Regions from separate parts of the Homo sapiens genome. Here regions 1, 3, 4 and 5 are each linked to region 2. Evidence: promoter capture Hi-C in human tissues and cell types (Jung and others, 2019). All regions are on one chromosome and are shown on one strand. The core of a region is centred on a gene start or on the middle of the fragment in contact, and the rest is flanking DNA. Distances in the headings are between cores, read along the strand shown. Region 1 has its middle 53 kb from the start of ERCC4. Region 2 holds the start of CPPED1 (calcineurin like phosphoesterase domain containing 1). Region 3 overlaps PARN (poly(A)-specific ribonuclease). Region 4 overlaps LOC105371093 (a long non-coding RNA gene). Region 5 holds the start of ERCC4 (ERCC excision repair 4, endonuclease catalytic subunit).

Region 1 (2,700 bases), core at 103-2,602, 1.1 Mb after region 2:
GCAATTGGGACTCAATCTCAGCAGGAACCTCCTGAATAGCCATGCCTCAGAATCAATCCACTAAGGGACAAGGCAGCTGGGATAATTATTTTCCAACTCCCTTCTCTCATTGATCGAGGATTGACCTTGGGGCATTGCGCCTCCAGTCCTTTGGGATTGCCCTGTGGACGGGCTAAGCAAGCTCTCTCGCCACTAGAGGGAACCCTGGGGCAGAGAAACGTGTGCTCCAGGGCGTAAGCAGTCAGCGTGCCTGGAAACCATCCACCATAGCTGCAAGAGGCCTAAAGAGATTGGCCAAGGGATGTGGCATGGGATACTAATCATATCTGCTACATGGGAAAAACTGTATCAGCAATGTTTTGCTTTATTTTTAAGAAACATCTGAAGTAAATAAAATAAAATGTTAATATTTGTCAATTCTACCCAGTGGTTGCATGGGTGGCTGCTATATTATTCTCTGTTCCTTTTTGCATTTTGTCTTTAAATTTTACAAATTACATTCACAATGTTGTAAAACCACCGCCACTGTTTTGCTTTATTTTTAAGAAACATCTGAAGTAAATAAAATAAAATTGTTAATATTTGTCAATTCTACCCAGTGGTTGCATGGGTGACTGCTATATTATTCTCTGTTCCTTTTTGTATTTTTTGTTTAAATTTTACTAATTACATTCACAGTGTTGTAAAACCATCACCACTGTCTATTTCCAAAATTTCACCACCCTAAAGAGAGAGCAATAAGCAATAACTCCTTATGCTCCTCTCCCTTGGCCTTTGGTAACTTCTAATCTACCTTCTGTCTCTATAAATTTCCCTATTCTAGATATTTCATACAAGTAGAATCACACAATATTTGTCCTTTTTGTTGGCCTATATCACTTAGCATAATGCTTTCAAAGTCAATCCATGTTGTAACATGTATCAGAACTTTCTTTCTTTTTATGGCTGAATAATACCCCAGCGTGTGTGTGTGTGTGTGTGTGTGTGTGTGTGTGTGTACCACATTTTGTTTATTTATTCATCTGTTGATGAACTCTTGGGTTGTTTTCACCTTTTGGCTATTGTGAATAATGCTACAATAAACATTGCCATGGAAGTAACTATTGGAGTCCGTGTTTCCAATTTTTTGTTGTATACCTAGGAACAGAATTGCTAGGTCATATGGTAACTCTATGTTTCATTTTTTGAGGAACCACTATACTCCTTTCCATAGCATCTAAACCGTCCTACATTCCAACCAGCGCTTCATAAGGGTTCCAATTTCTCCCCATCCTCGCTAACACTATCTTCTCTTTGTTGTTGTTGTTGTTATAGCCATCCTAGTAGGTATGAAGGGATATTTCACTGTGGTTTTGGGTTGCATGTCCTTAATGATGATATTGAACACCTTTTCATCTACTTATTGGCCATTTATGTATCTTCCTTGGAGAAATGCCTATTCAAGCTTTCTGTATTCTTAAACCTTTTCAAAATAAAAATGTAAGGTCCTATAGCATGCAGTGGAGCCTACTATTTGAAAACAACTTCTGCTTTTTCTAGTGAAGTTACTTTCTTGATTTTTCTAACAATCAAAATTTTTCTCTACTTTGTCTCTCAGCAGATTTCAGTTTCAACTGCATCATCCATTCCATCAATCAGCAAGTTTGCTAAGAGAGCTTTCGTGAAGCTACTTTGCAACATCTAAGTGACAAGCAAATCCAACTTTAGGCAAAGGTCCAATAAGTCACACTCCAGGAGATAGCAACAAAAGTAAAATCAAGTAGTGATGACTTGTCAACCTATCCTTTATTCTGGACTAAAGGGATGTGGGCTTTTTCTTTTGGTTTTAAGTAGGAAAATGATCTCTTCCCATCTCCTAATCACAGAACAAGAAACGAAGGGAAGGAAGATTAAAAAGGGTAGGGTAGTCCCTCCAAAAATACACAAAAGCATCAATTGTAGTTTACATCAAAATTCAAGTCCCATGAAGTTTATCAAAGTTTGTAGTATAACTGTATCTCTCTACTAGAGTTTGAACCAAGCATTTTTTCTCTTTGCTGGCATGTCTATTGTTCCAAGTTCTATGGGAATAATGGGGTTTATTTAATATTTTCCACATCTTCCCTACTTGTCAGTTATTTCTCTCCCCCTTCCTCAAACCCCTGAGAAACTCCCAAACACTTTCTATATTGTATTCACGAGGAGGCAACACTGTGGGACTGGGTTTGGGCATGGAGTGTAGCCTGCAGACTATCAAGGGTTGGAGTCTTGGCTTTGTCATTTAATATCGTTGTTGTTGATGCTGCTGTTGGTGCTAACTTCTCTAAACTTCAGTTTCCTTTTAAAGTCTGTTTTAAAAAGGAAAACTATTACTACAAATAACCAAAATATCAATTTTATCTAGTTTGAACAATAAAGACAATTTAATATATCTCATTTAACAGGAAGTCTAGGGATTTCCGAGATTGGGCGGGATTCAGAGCTGGTTTTTTTCAGCCACTCGATGATATTGTTAAGGACCTAGGTTCTTTCCATCTTGCTACTCTGCCAGCCAAAGCATTAGTATTATCTTAAAACCAGTTTCCTTGTAGCTGTAAGAAAGCTGTTAGCTATAAACTTCTCTGTATATATCTCCCAGAAGGCAGCAACATTCTCCTCCAATTTGGTGATGGGTAGAGAGGTTTTTCCTTTAGATCGATTGGGAAGAACCAACAAAAACAT
Region 2 (2,700 bases), core at 120-2,619:
TTGAACCCGGGAGGCGGAGGTTACAGTGAGCCAAGATCGTGCCACTGCACTCCAGCCTGGGCAATAAAGCAAGACTCCGCCTTAAATGAATAAATAAGGTTTTACCATAGAATTACCGGAGAAACCTACTTTAGATAAGGTAGCAGGTAAAGTCTCTGAGGAAGTGAATGAACTTTAAAATGAGGTGTGACGGTTGAGAGAGCCAGGCTCACCAACCCTGCTAAAGAAGCAGAAAACAGCAAGCGCCAAGACCCTCAGGGAAAGAACGGCCTTGGCCCTTTTAAATGCAGTTCAAACAAGGGCAACAACAAAACCTGTTGCAGAACTGGGCAAGAGAGAGAATGACAACCCTGAAGGAAGTGGACACAAGCCTGATCATATAGGGCATTTAGGGTGACTTCCCTGGGGGTATAAAGCTGGTGAGAGCCTGGGAGGCGATCTGGCTGCAGGCAGCAAAAAGCCACAGAGGGGAATCAACAAACCAGAAACAAACCTCCCTCTTTACTTAGCACCTAGCATGCGTCCAACACCGGGTTACAAAAATACTTTTGATCTGTTTACGCTTCCAACAACCCTATGAGGCAGGTATTATCAAACCCATTTTTAAGGCAAAGCAGATAATCTAAATCCAAAATCCAAGCACTTCACTACGACTCTCGAATGCCCTCCCTCTCTACTGCTCTGATGGGGCAGTGTTACCATTTCGGTGAATGACTTAAATAAACGTCATTATGGAGTACAGAATACATAACGGTGAACAACCTTAATAAAACCGACACCCTCTAACATGCACCGAACGCTTATCCAGTAACACCCACAAGTATTCCCGTTTCACAGATGTGGAAGCTGAGGCCAAGATGCTAATGCACAGCTTGGAAACCAGGTCTCGCTGCAGAGTCCAAGCTGTCATTAACTATGCTTTGCTACCCTCCTCTTACTTCCCTTCTCTGGGGGAAGTTAGGTCAAGGCCAAGGAGGCTCCTAGACCAGATCGCTCTCTCGGCCTCGCCTCTCAACTGCGCCCCTGGAATCCCTAAGAGCAGGCTTTGATGCAGCTATGGCGGCTCCCAGGCCCCGGTGCAGCCCCGGATGGTGTCCGACTGGCGGAGCGCACACCTGAACAAAAGGTTCCCCCGGCGGAAGGTTCCGCAGCCCCAGAGTCCCCTCCCCGGGTGAGGGGCGGGCAGTACCTGCGGGAAACGCGGCCAGGGTCCTGCCCCTGGCTCTGTGGAAAACACCCCCCGCCTCTGCAGCCGACATGGCGAGCGAGTTTCTGGCCTTCACTTAGAACACTGCGTGGGTGGAAGCCGCGCGACTTCACACAGAACAACCGCTGGACCTGTCCCGCTTTGGGCGACGCCCTTTGATCTCGGGGCGGGACTGGGGCGGGACGGGGAGGGGCCCGGTGGCTCGGGGCGCCACTAGTGCTGCCTGGGCGGAGCGGAGGCGCCAGCGGCCCCTCTGGGATCGACCTGCGCGCCTGGCGAGTGGAGACTGTCTAGGGCACGCGTGGGCGGGGATAAGGCTTTGGGGTCAGTCCTTCCCTAAAGGCAGAGTTACTAGATTTAACAAGTAAAAATGCAGGACTCCCGGTTAAATTGGAATTTCAGATTTTTTTTTTTAAAGAATGACTGACTTGGTATAAATATGTCCTATGCAGTATTTGGGAGCTACTTACGTTAAATTTTTTTTTCATTATCTGAAATTCCAATTGAACTGGGCGTCCTAATTTTTTTAAATTTTTCTCTTTTTGCAGGTTTGAATGGAAGCGTCCTGATTTTTTTTTATCTGACAACTCTATCATAAAGTCAGAAGGAGCCACTGGGGTGGCTTACGCCTGTAACCCCAGCTCTTTGGGAGGCCAAGGAGGGAGGATCGCTTGAGTCCAGGTGTTGGAGACCAGCCTGGGCAACACGGCGAGAGACCTTGCCAATACAAAAAAAAAAAAAAAAAAGATGAAAAGGTGGACGTCTTGGAAGACTGTCTCAGCCTGAACTTCCCAGTGGCTGCCACCATCTTTCTGTTATTATCTTTGCTTGCTATGCACCAGGCAGGGCGCTAAGCACTTTGCACGCTGCTCACTTAATCCCCACTACAGCCCTAGGAGGTGGTGCTGTTATTAGCTGCATCCGTCATTTGGGGAAACTGACGCTCAGAGAGATGAACGAACTTGCACAAGGTGACACACATCTAGAGAGGTAGTAAAGCTGCGAGTAACCAAATTAGTGTCTCTTCAACTCAAGAGCCATTGTAGTGAACTACTTAGCCAGCATTTGTCAAACGTGTTGAAAATACAAATTCCAGAATGGACCTATTGAATCCAAATCTCTATGAAAATGATCTGTGTTTTGTTGTTGTTGTTGTTGTTTTGAGACAGGGTCTCACTCTGGTTGCCTAGGCTGGAGTGCAGTGGCACAATCTCTGCAGTCTCGATCTCCTGGGCTCAGGTGATTCTCCCACCTCAGCCTCCTAAGTGGCTGGCACTATTGGCGTGCGCCACCATGCCTGGCTAATACTTTGTATTTTTAGTAGAGACGAGTTTGACTATGTTGCCCAGGCTGATCTGGAACTCCTGAGCTCAAGCAATCCACCCACCCGGGCCTCCTAGAGTGCTAGGATTACAGGCATGAGCCACAGTGCCTGGCCTGAAAATGATCTGTTTTTAACAAGCACTGCAGGGGAGCTCTTATGATCTTACAAA
Region 3 (2,700 bases), core at 157-2,656, 1.6 Mb after region 2:
ATCTGTTGAGTACCTGCTGAGATGCTTTTCTGAGTACTGGAGCTCACACCCAACGCCTCAGCACCGTTTTGGGTTGGACAGACTTTGTCGCGCCGTGCCTAGCACTCTAATACAGTTCCCGCCACCACCCGAACCAGACCTTCGCGGCTCCTGGCACACTCTAAATACTTCTGAGAGTTTAATGCAGACCCTCAACAGGGCTTGAACTTTGTACTCTCACTCATTATGGGACCTTATTAAAGTAAATGAGCAAGCCAAATTGGCTGATTCCACAGGTTCTGCACCTGATATCCTGACCTATATCCTGCTGATACTAATAGGATTAAACACTGAAAACAAACCAGGTGGAAAGGATCCATTAAGTTTCCACCTGGCACCGTCAGGGGTCTTGCTCGATGAATGGTGCTCCAGAAGAAAGCTCGATTCACTCAAGTTCTCTGATTCAATTAAAAGTTGTCAAGATGTCTCTTTCTCTTTTTTTTTTGGCAGCACTGACAAAGAAGTACAAAATCTACAATTTTTTTTTTAGCTCAAATCTTGTGGCAGTGACAGCTTTACTGTCAATGGGAGGAAAAAAACCCTTATTTTAATTACAGTATTATAAATTCAAAACCCTAAATAACTTATAGAAAGTTTTCACTTAAAATGATGAAAGCTATAAAAGGAACTAATCTATTAATGCAGTCTATTATTAGTTATTTTAATTTTAATATTTTTCAGATTATGCTGATATAGAGGGGAAAAACGAAAAGCTTGTCCCTGAGGAGTAATAAACTAAAAAAATCCAGAAGAGACAGCTATGAAGGACAGGAATACAAGTGGGGAAACCCCCCTGCCCCTCTAAATCCTGCTCAGTACGATCTCTAGAAATCATGCTGACATTCATTATTTTAACATTTGTTGAGCACACGAAACATGACAGTGGTAATAAAGGTATGAAATTTGAAGACTAAGGATGCTACAGATTTAAAACTTCTCCAATACTTTTTCTTCTTTCTTTTCTTGAGACAAGGTCTCACTGTGTCCCCCAGGTTGGAGTGCACTGATGCGATCATAGCTCACTGCAGTCAAAACTCCTGGGCTCAAGCGATCCTCCCGATTCAGCCTCCTGAGTACCTGGGACTACATGCCCGTGCAGCTAATATTTAAATTTTTTTTTTTTTTTTTTTTTTTTTGTAGAGAAAAGGTGTCACTATATTGCCCAGGCTGGTCTCAAACTCCCGGGCTCAGGTCATCCTCCTGCTTCAGCTTCCCAGAGTGGTGGGATTATAGTTGTGAGCTACCATGCCTGGCCCCCTCCAATAGTTAAGTCAGGGAAAGGACAGGAGGTAAGTAAAGAGAGACACCCAGAGTCAAGAGACAGCTAAAACATCCAATCCAGGCTTCAAACACAAGTTTAAGTTTTCTGTTGAAATTCAGCTTCAGCATAATGTACAAAAAGCATATGTGACATTTTTGCTACTTGTCTGATTTCATTAATATCCATGAGATTCAGAAAACTCCCCACAGTCAGATCGGGCCACATGCAAAAGGGGATTAATTAAAACAGTGCATTCATAGCTTGGGTATGAATCAAGTTCCACCACTTGACTACTACTTTCCTTTGATTTGATTGTTAGTTCTGCTAACCGTGACAACTGTCACGATGTGAGACAAAGGAGAATGATTATAATTGTGTCTGGGTCAGTGTCTCTCAACACATAACCTTGGTTAAAAGCACTCACTTTCTTTTGTGTGTGTGTATGTAAGACAGGGTGTCACTCTGTTGCCCAGGATGGAGTGCAGTGGCGCAATCTTGGCTCACTGTAGCCTTGACCTCCCTGGGCTGAGGCAGTCCCCCTACTTCAGTCTCCTTAGTAGCTGGGACTACCGGCATGCGCCACCACACCTGGCTAATTTTTTGTATTTTTAGTAGAGACGTGGTTTTGCCATGTTGGCCATGCTGGTCTTGAACTCCTGACCTCAAGTGATCCACCCGTCTTGGCCTCCCAAAGTGCTCGGATTACAGGCGTGAGCCACCGAGCCTGGCCTCACCAGCTTTCTTGTAGGACAGACTTAATGGCTCTGGGACTTTGGGCAACTCACATAACCCTTTGGGCCTCCGTTTTCTTAACTGTAAAATGGATAATGATGACTGTCTCAAGGATTTAAATGAAAGAATTTCAGTTACACATTAAGCACTGTCCTGGCTCCAGTAATAAGCACTCAATAAGCAGTGGCTATGATTACTGTCACTGTGACTGCTGCCTTGCTGGACCGCCCCCTGCAGCAGGGAATGGCCTTTTCCATGTGCTGACTGACAAGATGCCCTTCTGGCCTCTTGCTGTGGCCCTGTGTGGCATGTGTGCATGAAGGGCTGAGTGAGGCACATCTGCGGGGTGGAGAGGACATGGGATTCAGCTCAGGCAGACCTGGGTCTGCCTTTCGGCTGTGCTTCTTAAGCGCAGCATGGCCCCGCACACTTAGCCTCGCTGAGCCCAGGCATCTGCTTCATCAAATAAGGATGATGATTCCCACCTCAGGGCTACGGTGAAAATTAAATGAAATAAGGAGAGAAATGGCTCCTACTACAGCGTCTAGCATGTAGTAGGCTCTCAACAGGTGCTAATTTCCTGTTTCCTTTGCTTCTTATATAATTCTGCTTCGGAGAGAAATCCAGGTTGCCTGGGGGTTTTGCTGGAAACAGTGAAAACGCTGCTA
Region 4 (2,700 bases), core at 26-2,525, 1.1 Mb after region 2:
GGATAGGAAATCGTTAACATGTTTCAGATGAGGGCATTAAGACCAAAATACTCACATGAAGTCAGATGGGATGGAATGGGGTGAAAATCAGACTCTGCCAGGCTGCAAATGCCATGCCCTTTCCAGGCTCAGGGTAAGAAATGTCCTTTTACTACACTCCTTTGTGCCTGGTTCAGTAATGCTCAAAACATGGGAGAGAGGGAGGAATAAAAGGAAAGTCATTTCAGAGGTTAATTTCATTTTTACACTTCAGAAAGTGAAATGAGGAGATTTGACAAGTACCTAATTAATTTGATCTGGGTAAACAGCTCAAATGGATCTTTTTCATCTAAAAATAACTCCACTATGGGACTTGGCTTAATACAATCGTTCTCAAAATGTGGTCCCCAGACCAGAGTTAGCAGCAGCACCAGCACCTAGGAGAACTTGTTAGAAATGCAAATTCCACACTGGGCAGGGTGGCTCACGCCTGTAATCCCAACACATTGGGAGGCCAAGGTGGGTGGATCACTTGAGGTCAGGAGTTTGAGACTAGTCTGGCCAAAATTGTTGTAAAAATACAACAATTTTGTATTTTTAGTAGAGACTGTGAAACCCCACCTCTACTAAAAATACAAAAATTAGCTGGGCATGGTGGCAGGTGCTGTAGTCCCAGCCACTCCGGAGGCTGACGCATGAGAATTGCTTGATCTGGGAGGCAGAAGTTGCAGTGAGCCGATATCATGCCACTGCACTCCAGCCTGGGCAACAAAATGAGACTCCGTCTCAAAAAAAAAAAAAAAAAAAAAAAAAAAAAAAAAAAAAAAAAGAGAATAAAGCAGATCACAATGCTTGGATACATACAAGTTCTCCCATCACATTTTTATTCCCAGAGTCAGTTTGCTGTGCATCCCTACTCAAGGCGCTGCTATGGCCTGGGTTCACCCATTGATGTGCACCATTTTGTTAAAATAAATCATCTTATTTTATGCATTAAATGCAGCATGTGTGTTATTACCCTCACCTAAGTTTGCGTGGCCTCTCAAACGACCACCGAATCAGGTGGCACTGATCCTACAGCTGCTACCAAGATCCTGGCTGTGGGCCAGGAGTGCTGGCTCACGCCTCTAACCCCAGCACTTTGGGAGGCCAAGTCGGGCGGATCACTTGAGGCTAGGAGTTCGAGACCAGCCTGGGCAACATCGTGAAACCCTGTTTCTACTTAAAAAATATAAAAATTAGCCAGGCGTGGTGACGTGAGCGCCTGTAATCCCAGCTACTGTAGGCTGAGGCAGGTGAATCACTTGAACCCAGGAGGTGGAGGTTGCAGGGAGCCAAAATCACACCACTGCGCTACAGTCTGGATAACAAAGCGAGACGCTGTCTCAAAAAAAAAAAAAAAGATAAAAGATCCCGGCTGTGGCAGCGAGTGTTGTACCCTATTAGGGTAATGACAGCTTGCAGCTATCTTCAGAGCTACTATAAATGCCTCTTATTGATATTACTAGCTTAATGCTGAAGCTTAATTCCCTCTTAATAAAAACACTGCAGTTTTTCACATTAATTACAACAGTGAGTAATGGTTACTATTTGCCTATAAACATTCCACACTTTTAAATAACACAAGATGTCTCCACAACAGTTACGAATTACATTTATCAGCTAGTGACAAATCCCAAAAAGATAACAGTGGCTTCAACAAATTAGAGGTTTATTTTTCTCACATATGAAAGAAGTCCAGAAGTAGACAAGCCAAGGCTAGAGGTAGATGTATATCACAAAAATTAAGTTTCTGCAGTCTTTCTACTCTGCTATTCTTTCTCTTTTTTTTTCTTTTTCTTTTTTTTTTTTTTTTTTTGAGACAGAGTCTCGTTCTGTCACCCAGGCTGGAGTGCAGTGGCGTGATCTCGGTTCGCTGCAAGCTCCGCCTCCTGGGTTCACACCATTCTCCCGCCTCAGCCTCCCGAGTAGCTGGGACTACAGGCACCCCCCACCACGCCTGGCTAATTTTTTGTATTTTTAGTAGAGATGGGGTTTCACCCCGTTAGCCAGGATGGTCTCGATCTCCTGACCTCGTGATCCGCCCGCCTCAGCCTCCCAAAGTGCTGGGATTACAGGTGTAAGCCACCACTCCCAGCCTCTTTTTTTTTTTTTTTTTTTTTTTTTGAGATAGAGTCTCACTCCGTGGTCCTAGCTGGAGTGCAGTAGCATGATCTCAGCTAACTTCAACCTCCATCTCCTGGGGTCAAGTGATTCCCCTACCTCAGCCTCCCAAGTAGCTGGGATTCAAGTGATTCTCCTGCCTCAGCCTCCCGAGTAGCTGGGACTACAGGTGCATGCCACCACATGCAGCTAATTTTTTGTATTTTTTTTAGTAGAGACGAGGTTTCACCGTGTTAGCCAGGATTGTCTTGATCTCCTGACCTCGTGATCTGCCCACCTCGGCCTCCCAAAGTGCTGGGATTACAGGCGTGAGTCACTGTGCCCGGCTTAATTTTCATATTTTTAGTAGAGACAGGGTTTCATCATGTTGGCCAGGCTGGTCTCGAACTCCTGACCTCAGGTGATCCGCCCACCTCTGCCTCCCAAAGTGCCAGGATTACAGGGGTGAGCCACCATGCCCTGCCCTACTCTGCTATTCTTAAAATATGGCTTCCATCTTCAATGTTGTCTCATGGTCACAAAATAGATGCTGGAGCTCCAAATATCACATCCATATAC
Region 5 (2,700 bases), core at 81-2,580, 1.1 Mb after region 2:
ACGGCTAGTGTGAATGTGAATTGGTATAGGCTTTCTAGAGGGCAATGTGGCAATGTGAATGGAATGAAAAGCCTTACAAATTTTTTTCTCTTTATCCCAGTGATTATTCATTTCTAGACGTGTATCTGAAGGCCACGGCTGAATTTACATACAAAGATGTTTAGTGAAATATTATTTATATTACTGGAAGGGAAAAAGCAGAAACAGACTAAATGTCCTCTAATAAGCAATTAGGTAAGTACACCCACATAATGGAAATCTCATCAGCCATATAAAAGGACTTTGTAAAAGAATATGAAACATCATGTTCAGAGGTTTGCCAAATGTTAATGACAAAGCTGGGGATTTAAATCAGGGATATTAATTATCTCGTGTCGGTAAAAGAACTCCGTGTGATGAGAGAATGTGTATATAGATAGAAAAAAAAGGACTAAATAAAATAGATTTCGTGATGTTAACAGTGGTTATTTCCAAGTAATGGAAACAAGTGATTTTCATTTTTGTTTACTTGTATTTTCTATTTTCTAATAACAAAGGTGGGGGGTTTCTATACAAAACAATTCCTCTACTAGTTCAACTATCAGGCATTTCTAGGTATAGAACAAACACTGCGGGAGGTGTCCCTCTAGTGGAAGGAGGGATTTTTAAAAATAGTTTATTGTATTGAAGTCTTTGGGAGGCAAACAGAGGTCTGAAGTCAGTAAATGATTCTGCTTATTCCACAGCCACTGCACTCCAGCCTGGGCAACATATCAACATCCTGTCTCGGGAAAGAAAAAAAAAATTAAAAGAAGGATGGGGAGTAATCGCAAAAGGAAGGGCCAAAAACCACCCTAGGAAACAGGTGCTACTAACTCTTGGCGCATTTGGAATATTGACCAGTAACTTTTTCAACTGTCGATGTCGGGGGATTAAGCTCCTTAGGCTTACTTCCCCTTCCCTTGCTTTTTGGCAGCTTGAGGCTAGGGTGCCAGGGGATGTGGAAACTCAAAAGAGACGTGAATGGAGCCTGATATCTGCAAGCTACACCGACAGGGGGCGCCAGCCCCTACAGGTGACTCCATGAATCTTCGGCTCCACTCGGCTCTTCTTCGGCTGAGTTCGGCCAACGCTTGCCTTCTCAGGCTCGGCTCTCTTCGGCTTTCTGAGAGCGCGCCTGTCGTGGCCTCGGCTCCTCTTCGGCTGCGTTCGGCCCACGATCATCTCAGTCTCAGCTCTCCTCGGCTACGTTCGGCTGGCTGCCGTCCTCTCGGACTCGGCTCTCTTCGGTTGAGTTCGGCCTACTCTCCACTAGGAGTCGGCTTCCTTCGGCTGCGTTCGGCTGCGACCCGGAAGAGCTTCCATGGAGTCAGGGCAGCCGGCTCGACGGATTGCCATGGCGCCGCTGCTGGAGTACGAGCGACAGCTGGTGCTGGAACTGCTCGACACTGACGGGCTAGTAGTGTGCGCCCGCGGGCTCGGCGCGGACCGGCTCCTCTACCACTTTCTCCAGCTGCACTGCCACCCAGCCTGCCTGGTGCTGGTGCTCAACACGCAGCCGGCCGAGGAGGTGCGGCCGCGCTGGCGCGGGAGTGAGGGGACTCCGAGAGTGTTGAGGGCCTCCTGAGCGGATGCGAGGCCTCTGACAGGGATGGAGGGGCTCTGAGGGGGATTCAGGCCCCTGACACTACGCGATGACACAGAGAAGGATGGCAGGGGTCCCCAGGGGGATGCAGGTCCCTCACACTGCGGGAACACAGACGTATGTAAGGGGTCGCTAGGAGGATACCGGTCGCTCACACCGTGCGGGGACACTGATAAGAATTGGAGGGGCCCCGAGAAGGCTGCAGGTCCCTGGCAGGAGTTGAAGAACACTAAGAGGAATGCCAGTCCCTGACACTGTGCGGGGACTCTGAGAGGGAAGGGAGGGGTCCCAAGAAGGATGCAAGTCTTTGACCAGAGTTCAAGAACACTAAGAGAAATGGGAGGGGTCCCCAGGGGATGCGGGTCCCTGACACTGTGCAGGCACAGTGAGAATGATGGAAGGGGTCCCGAGAAGGATGCAATTCCCTGACAACACTAAGAGGGATGGGAGGGGTCCCCAGAAGGATGCAGGTCCCTGACATGGGTGCAAGGGCACTGAAAGGTGAAGGGGCTCTGAGTGGTAGGAGAGGATCGGAGGTCGCTGCAGGGGAGGGGGAGATGTCGGAAGGAGGATCTGGATAGGAATAACGGGAGAGTCCTGAAGTTGGCCATTAAGGGAGTTTCTGGGGGCAGAAGGAAGGTCCCTGAAAGGGAACAGTGATGAGGATGGAAGATCTCTGAGGGTGATGGGGAGACATGAAAGGAGATGCTGAGGCGCTGGAAAAACCCCAATAGGGAAAAGGAGGGACCAGGAAATAGGACATTCACCAAGGCTGTGTTAAGAGGGCCATAGGGTCAGAAAGGGATTGGAGCTTGACGCTGAGGATGTTGGCAAAGGTTAACTACAGTTAAGGACAATGGAGAACACTGAGAAAGATGGAATGGGGCTACACATGGGTCTGAGGGGTGTTGAGAGGGGACACAGCTTGGTCGGACAAGTCTGATGATCCCCTAGATATATCAGGTGGCCGGGAGAAAAATGTCAGCTGAGAAGAGTGACCACAGTCTCTTTGAGGGCAGGGATCCTGTTTGATTCATCTAGGTATCCCCAGTGCTTGGCATAGGGCCTAAGGCAAC

What was found. The method cuts DNA at HindIII sites, captures the fragments that hold promoters and counts their contacts. A contact is called where the count stands out against the background at its distance.
Region 1: a contact is called between a fragment that was not itself captured here and the fragment with the promoter of CPPED1 in region 2, in 3 of the 25 tissues and cell types used here (H1 embryonic stem cells, dorsolateral prefrontal cortex and mesendoderm cells).
Region 3: a contact is called between a fragment that was not itself captured here and the fragment with the promoter of CPPED1 in region 2, in 1 of the 25 tissues and cell types used here (heart left ventricle).
Region 4: a fragment that was not itself captured here is called in contact with the fragment with the promoter of CPPED1 in region 2 in 2 of the 25 tissues and cell types used here (dorsolateral prefrontal cortex and lymphoblastoid cells).
Region 5: the fragment with the promoter of ERCC4 here is called in contact with the fragment with the promoter of CPPED1 in region 2 in 1 of the 25 tissues and cell types used here (dorsolateral prefrontal cortex).

What each region holds. Positions count from the first base shown.
Region 1 is chr16:13,866,122-13,868,821 of GRCh38, forward strand. No RefSeq gene overlaps it. Among named protein-coding and RNA genes, the nearest start is that of ERCC4, 53 kb to the right of the region's middle. RefSeq lists an enhancer at 1-265. The HindIII fragment of the contact is 6,401 bases long and covers 1-2,700 here.
Region 2 is chr16:12,802,518-12,805,217 of GRCh38, forward strand. It overlaps CPPED1 (calcineurin like phosphoesterase domain containing 1), which reads right to left and starts at 1,370. Exons shown (of 4, transcript NM_018340.3): 1 at 1,190-1,370. The coding sequence starts at 1,259. RefSeq lists an enhancer at 952-1,321 and a silencer at 1,402-1,451. The HindIII fragment of the contact is 16,943 bases long and covers 1-2,700 here.
Region 3 is chr16:14,443,834-14,446,533 of GRCh38, forward strand. The region is part of intron 23 of PARN (poly(A)-specific ribonuclease); the gene reads right to left. Among named protein-coding and RNA genes, the nearest start is that of LINC03107, 16 kb to the left of the region's middle. RefSeq lists an enhancer at 1,800-2,300. The HindIII fragment of the contact is 4,437 bases long and covers 1-2,700 here.
Region 4 is chr16:13,898,340-13,901,039 of GRCh38, forward strand. It overlaps LOC105371093 (a long non-coding RNA gene), which reads right to left. Exons shown (of 4, transcript XR_007065000.1): 3 at 56-181. Among named protein-coding and RNA genes, the nearest start is that of ERCC4, 20 kb to the right of the region's middle. The HindIII fragment of the contact is 8,964 bases long and covers 1-2,700 here.
Region 5 is chr16:13,918,824-13,921,523 of GRCh38, forward strand. It overlaps ERCC4 (ERCC excision repair 4, endonuclease catalytic subunit), which reads left to right and starts at 1,331. Exons shown (of 11, transcript NM_005236.3): 1 at 1,331-1,549. The coding sequence starts at 1,343. The region is part of intron 1 of LOC105371093 (a long non-coding RNA gene); the gene reads right to left. LOC124903647 (a long non-coding RNA gene) reads right to left here and starts at 1,255. Exons shown (of 2, transcript XR_007065001.1): 1 at 856-1,255; 2 at 642-760. RefSeq lists enhancers at 915-964, 1,175-1,534, 1,575-1,784. The HindIII fragment of the contact is 8,609 bases long and covers 1-2,700 here.